Regions from separate parts of the Homo sapiens genome. Here region 2 is linked to region 1. Evidence: promoter capture Hi-C in 16 types of primary human blood cells and fetal thymus (Javierre and others, 2016). All regions are on one chromosome and are shown on one strand. Each heading gives the region's core, a stretch centred on a gene start or on the middle of the fragment in contact. The rest is flanking DNA. Distances are from core to core; before and after follow the strand shown.

The links. Contacts are between HindIII fragments. The CHiCAGO score rates a contact against its expected background, and 5 or more counts as called.
Region 2: a contact is called between a fragment that was not itself captured here and the fragment with the promoter of ERCC4 in region 1, in 1 of 17 cell types (activated CD4 T cells). The highest score is 5.1, in activated CD4 T cells.

What each region holds. Positions count from the first base shown.
Region 1 is chr16:13,918,247-13,922,083 of GRCh38, reverse strand. It overlaps ERCC4 (ERCC excision repair 4, endonuclease catalytic subunit), which reads right to left and starts at 1,930. Exons shown (of 11, transcript NM_005236.3): 1 at 1,712-1,930; 2 at 1-53. The coding sequence starts at 1,918. The region is part of intron 1 of LOC105371093 (a long non-coding RNA gene); the gene reads left to right. It overlaps LOC124903647 (a long non-coding RNA gene), which reads left to right and starts at 2,006. Exons shown (of 2, transcript XR_007065001.1): 1 at 2,006-2,405; 2 at 2,501-2,619. RefSeq lists enhancers at 1,477-1,686, 1,727-2,086, 2,297-2,346. The HindIII fragment of the contact is 6,939 bases long and covers 1-3,837 here.
Region 2 is chr16:19,516,873-19,520,709 of GRCh38, reverse strand. It overlaps GDE1 (glycerophosphodiester phosphodiesterase 1), which reads left to right. Exons shown (of 6, transcript NM_016641.4): 2 at 3,521-3,696. Among named protein-coding and RNA genes, the nearest start is that of GDE1, 3.3 kb to the left of the region's middle. The HindIII fragment of the contact is 1,461 bases long and covers 1,518-2,978 here.

The sequences.
Region 1 (3,837 bases), core at 681-3,180:
CGGCGAGGGAGGTGTTCAACTCCTTCTATCTTCAGCTGATTGATAAAATACTCCTAAATCAAATCAAACTTGATTAGTAGGCTATTTAATACAGGGCAGTTTTTAATAGGTCACAGATATTTAAAATAATGTGCTGTCTTTCTCTGAGATAATGAACTTAATAATGAATATACACACTAAGTTACTTCTTTATAGTAACTTCAGCCAACCAGTCTACATTTAATGAGGTTTTCTTGTTTTGGGGTTTACACTAAGGAATAATTGCACTTCAGTCATTATCAGCACTCAACTACAATAACATATGCACACACATACAAAACCTCAAACTTTTAAAAGCCTGGATTAAAAGATTTCTGCTACCTAGAAAATACTTCCCACCAAAGCCAGGTTTGTAGCCAAGCACATTCTATGAGATGATAACAAGGGAATCCTTTCCCCAGACAATGTTTTAGACTATCAGTTCTGTGCTAATCTATCCTAGAGGGACTTCATGTCACTGGGTCCCTTGGCTTGGTTTATTTATATCCCCAGTTTAAAACCATCTTTACTAGGCCCTGTGTGTTGCCTTAGGCCCTATGCCAAGCACTGGGGATACCTAGATGAATCAAACAGGATCCCTGCCCTCAAAGAGACTGTGGTCACTCTTCTCAGCTGACATTTTTCTCCCGGCCACCTGATATATCTAGGGGATCATCAGACTTGTCCGACCAAGCTGTGTCCCCTCTCAACACCCCTCAGACCCATGTGTAGCCCCATTCCATCTTTCTCAGTGTTCTCCATTGTCCTTAACTGTAGTTAACCTTTGCCAACATCCTCAGCGTCAAGCTCCAATCCCTTTCTGACCCTATGGCCCTCTTAACACAGCCTTGGTGAATGTCCTATTTCCTGGTCCCTCCTTTTCCCTATTGGGGTTTTTCCAGCGCCTCAGCATCTCCTTTCATGTCTCCCCATCACCCTCAGAGATCTTCCATCCTCATCACTGTTCCCTTTCAGGGACCTTCCTTCTGCCCCCAGAAACTCCCTTAATGGCCAACTTCAGGACTCTCCCGTTATTCCTATCCAGATCCTCCTTCCGACATCTCCCCCTCCCCTGCAGCGACCTCCGATCCTCTCCTACCACTCAGAGCCCCTTCACCTTTCAGTGCCCTTGCACCCATGTCAGGGACCTGCATCCTTCTGGGGACCCCTCCCATCCCTCTTAGTGTTGTCAGGGAATTGCATCCTTCTCGGGACCCCTTCCATCATTCTCACTGTGCCTGCACAGTGTCAGGGACCCGCATCCCCTGGGGACCCCTCCCATTTCTCTTAGTGTTCTTGAACTCTGGTCAAAGACTTGCATCCTTCTTGGGACCCCTCCCTTCCCTCTCAGAGTCCCCGCACAGTGTCAGGGACTGGCATTCCTCTTAGTGTTCTTCAACTCCTGCCAGGGACCTGCAGCCTTCTCGGGGCCCCTCCAATTCTTATCAGTGTCCCCGCACGGTGTGAGCGACCGGTATCCTCCTAGCGACCCCTTACATACGTCTGTGTTCCCGCAGTGTGAGGGACCTGCATCCCCCTGGGGACCCCTGCCATCCTTCTCTGTGTCATCGCGTAGTGTCAGGGGCCTGAATCCCCCTCAGAGCCCCTCCATCCCTGTCAGAGGCCTCGCATCCGCTCAGGAGGCCCTCAACACTCTCGGAGTCCCCTCACTCCCGCGCCAGCGCGGCCGCACCTCCTCGGCCGGCTGCGTGTTGAGCACCAGCACCAGGCAGGCTGGGTGGCAGTGCAGCTGGAGAAAGTGGTAGAGGAGCCGGTCCGCGCCGAGCCCGCGGGCGCACACTACTAGCCCGTCAGTGTCGAGCAGTTCCAGCACCAGCTGTCGCTCGTACTCCAGCAGCGGCGCCATGGCAATCCGTCGAGCCGGCTGCCCTGACTCCATGGAAGCTCTTCCGGGTCGCAGCCGAACGCAGCCGAAGGAAGCCGACTCCTAGTGGAGAGTAGGCCGAACTCAACCGAAGAGAGCCGAGTCCGAGAGGACGGCAGCCAGCCGAACGTAGCCGAGGAGAGCTGAGACTGAGATGATCGTGGGCCGAACGCAGCCGAAGAGGAGCCGAGGCCACGACAGGCGCGCTCTCAGAAAGCCGAAGAGAGCCGAGCCTGAGAAGGCAAGCGTTGGCCGAACTCAGCCGAAGAAGAGCCGAGTGGAGCCGAAGATTCATGGAGTCACCTGTAGGGGCTGGCGCCCCCTGTCGGTGTAGCTTGCAGATATCAGGCTCCATTCACGTCTCTTTTGAGTTTCCACATCCCCTGGCACCCTAGCCTCAAGCTGCCAAAAAGCAAGGGAAGGGGAAGTAAGCCTAAGGAGCTTAATCCCCCGACATCGACAGTTGAAAAAGTTACTGGTCAATATTCCAAATGCGCCAAGAGTTAGTAGCACCTGTTTCCTAGGGTGGTTTTTGGCCCTTCCTTTTGCGATTACTCCCCATCCTTCTTTTAATTTTTTTTTTCTTTCCCGAGACAGGATGTTGATATGTTGCCCAGGCTGGAGTGCAGTGGCTGTGGAATAAGCAGAATCATTTACTGACTTCAGACCTCTGTTTGCCTCCCAAAGACTTCAATACAATAAACTATTTTTAAAAATCCCTCCTTCCACTAGAGGGACACCTCCCGCAGTGTTTGTTCTATACCTAGAAATGCCTGATAGTTGAACTAGTAGAGGAATTGTTTTGTATAGAAACCCCCCACCTTTGTTATTAGAAAATAGAAAATACAAGTAAACAAAAATGAAAATCACTTGTTTCCATTACTTGGAAATAACCACTGTTAACATCACGAAATCTATTTTATTTAGTCCTTTTTTTTCTATCTATATACACATTCTCTCATCACACGGAGTTCTTTTACCGACACGAGATAATTAATATCCCTGATTTAAATCCCCAGCTTTGTCATTAACATTTGGCAAACCTCTGAACATGATGTTTCATATTCTTTTACAAAGTCCTTTTATATGGCTGATGAGATTTCCATTATGTGGGTGTACTTACCTAATTGCTTATTAGAGGACATTTAGTCTGTTTCTGCTTTTTCCCTTCCAGTAATATAAATAATATTTCACTAAACATCTTTGTATGTAAATTCAGCCGTGGCCTTCAGATACACGTCTAGAAATGAATAATCACTGGGATAAAGAGAAAAAAATTTGTAAGGCTTTTCATTCCATTCACATTGCCACATTGCCCTCTAGAAAGCCTATACCAATTCACATTCACACTAGCCGTTTCCAAGAGGATCTGTTCCTCTACCTCTTTACTGCTTAATCTGGTATTTTGCTTACATTTTGTCAAGATGAAAATAGCATATAATTCCTGAATGCTGTTTAAGTGGAAAGGGTTGCCGGCAGACACTTTACATACAGCGTTTCCTCTGAGGCAGATATTAATCTCGTCAGTTCTGCCAGTGAGAAAAATGGAGGTGCAGGGAGGTTATATAACTTGGGCAAGGCCACGGGAGCTAGTTAGTGTATTTCTTAGATCTATTTCAGGACGTGATATGGGGGTACTCAACACATATTTAGGAAATGAAGATTGAAATGACAAAGCTGAAATTCAAACCTGACTCCCAAGCGGTGGTAGGCAGAATATCGGCTTCCCAAAGATGTTCATATCCTAATCCCTGGAGCCTGTAGGTTGTTTTATGTGGCAAAGGGGGGTTTGCAGATGTGAGTATGTTAAGGTTCTTGAGATGGGGGGATTATATGGATTATCCAGGTGGGCTCAATGTATCACAAATGTGCTTATAAGAGAAAGAGAGAGGTAGGAGGGTCAGATTCAGAGATGTGACAGGAGGCCGAGTTCA
Region 2 (3,837 bases), core at 999-3,498, 5.6 Mb before region 1:
TCTTTTACCCAGGCTGGAGGGCAGTGGTGCAATCTCCACGCACTGCAACCCCTGCCTCCCGTGTTCAAGCGATTCTCGTGCCTCAGCCTCCGGAGTAGCTGGGATTACAGGCGTGTGCCACCACGCCCAGCTAATTTTTGTATTTTTAGTAGAGATGGGGTTCTGCTATGTTGGCCAGACTGGTCTCAAACTCCTGGCCTCAAAGTGATCCACCCGCCTCGGCCTCCCAAGGTACTAGGATTACAGGCATGAGCCATCATGCCTGGCCTCCCTCATTTCCTTTTTTTTTCTTTTTTTTTTTCTTTTTTTTTAAACGAAGTCTCACTGTCTCCCAGGCTACAGTGCATCGGCGCAACCCCAGCTCACTGCAACCTCTGTATCCCAGGTTCAAGTGATTCTACTGCCTCAACCTCCCGAGTAGCTGCGATTACAGGCATGAGCCACCGTGCCCGGCCAAGATTTATACTTTTAAAGCTGCACTCTGGCCCATGTGGAGAATGTACTGTGGGTGTAATTTCATTCCTTTGCCACTGTTTATAGTAGTGTATCTGTTTTTGGAATACACTCAACTCACATTTATCAAGTTTTTCCTTCTATATCTCATTTATAATCTACCAGAAATTCTAGCACTGTCAGAAATGTATATATGTATGTATACATTCGACTTTACCAATAATTTTATTTATTTATTTATTTTTGAGACAGGGTCTCTCTCTGTCACCCAGGTTTGAGTGCAGTGGGGCGATCTCAACTCACTGCAACTTCCACCTCCCAGGTTGAAGCGATTCTTGTGCCTCAGGCTCCCAAGTAGCTAAGATTACAGATGTACTCCTCCACTCCCAGCTAATTTTTGTTTTTTGTTTTTAGTAGAGATGGTGTTTTGCCATGTTGGCAAGGCTGGTCTCAAACTCCTGACCTCAAGTGATCCACCTGCCTCAGTGGATTACAGAGTGCTGGGATTACAGGCAAAGTGCTGGGATCACAGGCATGAGCCACTGCCTGGCCAGCTTTACCAGTACTTCTATGTTATTCCAGTAATTGAGATAAAAAGATGAATCCCTGGTTCTAATTCACATATTAGTATATATAGGAGATATTGCAAGTTCAGTTCCAGACCTGAGTAAATAGTCAATAAAGCAAATATAGTAATAAAGGGAGTCACAAATTTTTTGGTTTCCCAGTGCATATAAAAGTTATGTTTACACTATATTGTAATCTATTAAGTATTGTGTATGTATATATATATATATATATATATATGCACATACACACACATATATAGGTTTTCATCCATGGTTCCTGGCTCATAACTCTCAGCCCTTGCTACAGTATTTTGTTAGGCATCCTAGGCCTTAGGAGCAGGCCTTGGGAAACAGAATCTCTCCTGCCCTCCTTTCACCTACCCCAAGGCAGGACTGGAATCTTTCCCTGTCTTTCAAATTGTGAGTCTTAAGACCCTCCTCAGAGAGGGACCCCACCCTATACCCTGGGGGAAGGAATGCTGACATCATGAAGCTTCCATAAAAACCTAAGAGGAATTAAAAAAATAAAAACTAAAATAAACCTAAGAGGACTTGAAGCCAATTGGTCAGAAGTTCCATAGGCCCCAGCTTGCTATTTGTGTCTGGAGGAGGGTGGGGTGCAGTCTTGGGGACCAAGCCCTCAACCTATGATCTGACACTATCTCCAGGTAGATAGTGTCAAAATTGAGTTGGAGGATACCCAGCTGGTGTCCACTACTTATTGGTGGGGAAAAACCCCCACATTTTTGGTCACAGACGTCGGGGTTGATTGTTGTGAGAGCAGAGGGAAAATGTGATGTGTTTTTCCAAAATAGTCGTACATCTGTATCACATGGGAAAAGGAAAAGATTTAAATAAAGCAGAAAAATCTCCACCCATAAAGGACGTTATTGATAAATTTGACTATATTACCTTTAAAGATGTGTTTAAAAGGACATAATAAATAACAATGGCTAACATTTATTGAAATCTTAACTATTCACTAGCACAGTGCTCTGTGTTGTTTATGGGTACTTAAATAAAAACCGGTAAGGGAGTGACATGAGAATGATATACACCAACTTTAAGATGGTAATTACCTCTGGAGAGGAAAGGAGGAGAATGAAAGGGAGAATTTCAGCTGTATCTGTAGTGTTGATAGTAAAACTGAAGCGGATAAGAGTGCAACTTCTACTGCATCCTAGCTTGTGCAGCCCTGGGCAAGTTTCCTACTCTTTCTTTGTCTCAGTTTTCTTATCTGTTAAATGAGAATATTAATAGTACCTGCTTCAGGGTTGTGAGGATCAAATAAGTTAATACATTTAAAGCACTTAGAAGAGTGCCTGGCAAGTAGAAAAGGCTCAATAAATAATAGTTTTTGTTTTTGTTTTTGTTTTAGTACAGAAAGAGACTGAGGAAATTAGGTCAAAATATTCACATATGTTAAATCTTTTTTACTGTAGATGTTTGCAATAGACCATGACTTAAAATATTTTTTAAAAAATTAAAAATCTTGATCATAGCTGGGCACAGTGGCTCACACCTGTAATCCCAGCACTTTGGGAGACTGAGGCAGGAGGATTGCTTGATCTCAGGAGTTCGAGACCAGCCTGGACAACATGGTGAAACCCCATCTCTACAAAAAATACAAAAATTAGCTGGGCATGGTGGCACGTGCCAGTAGTCCCGGCTACTTGGGAGACTGAGGTGGGAGGATGGCTTGAACCCAGGAGGCGGAGGTTTTAGTGAGCCGAGATCATGCCACTGCACTCTAGCCTGAACAACAGAGCCAGATCCTGTCTCCAAAAAAAAAAAAAAAGAAAGAAATCTTCATCGTAATGAGCATTTCACATCTTTATTGTGATGAGGAAGCCAAGGAAGCAAACATTAAATAGTGTGTCTCCAGAGGAGCATGGCTCGTGTAATTTAAGGTTCAAATTCTCTTTTTAGATAAATTCTAATCTACCTCATCAAGCTTAACAACTTATGGGCCAACAGCCAGTGCTGCTTACATAAACAAAATGTGATATGTCCTAGAAGCAGGCGTGGTGTCTTTGTGGTAGAGGGTGGAATTAAACCAACAAAAACCTGACTCATTTATGCCAAAGTAGTGAAATATCTGACTAATCAACAACCGTAGGGTGATCATCAGAACTGCTGTACCAACAAATAGTGTAGGTAAACAGTGGAATTGTCTAAGTATTCATAAGCCATTGATGACCCATATAGTTAAACATCCAGAGAAAACATAAGTTCCTGAAGTCTCCTAGTCTTCCACTGTGAAAGTAAGAAGAGTGGGAAAATTAAAGTTTTTAAGGAATCCATCAGTTAGGAATTGAAGTAAGGTTATATACACAGAAAACAGAAACAGATCAGGATTGCTGTTTGGTGGGGGAAGTGGAAGGAAAATGAATCAAAAAGGACAGCTGTCTTAGGAGCCCTGCTGGTCTTTTGGGTGGTTAGATGCAAAATAATGTTTGTGGCCATTTGACAGTAATATTCTTGATGTTTTTGTTAAGGCAGCTAAGAATGGAGCAACAGGCGTGGAGTTGGACATTGAGTTTACTTCTGACGGGATTCCTGTCTTAATGCACGATAACACAGTAGATAGGACGACTGATGGGACTGGGCGATTGTGTGATTTGACATTTGAACAAATTAGGAAGCTGAATCCTGCAGCAAACCACAGACTCAGGTAAGTAGTTTATTGTCACTTAAACAGATCTTTTAGCTTTTATTGGAAATGACAGACACTGGTGCCTTCTAATTACATCTGCCCCAGGAGAGTTGTCTTGTTTTGTTTTGAACTGTACGTAGGTCTTGTAAGTAATGAGCA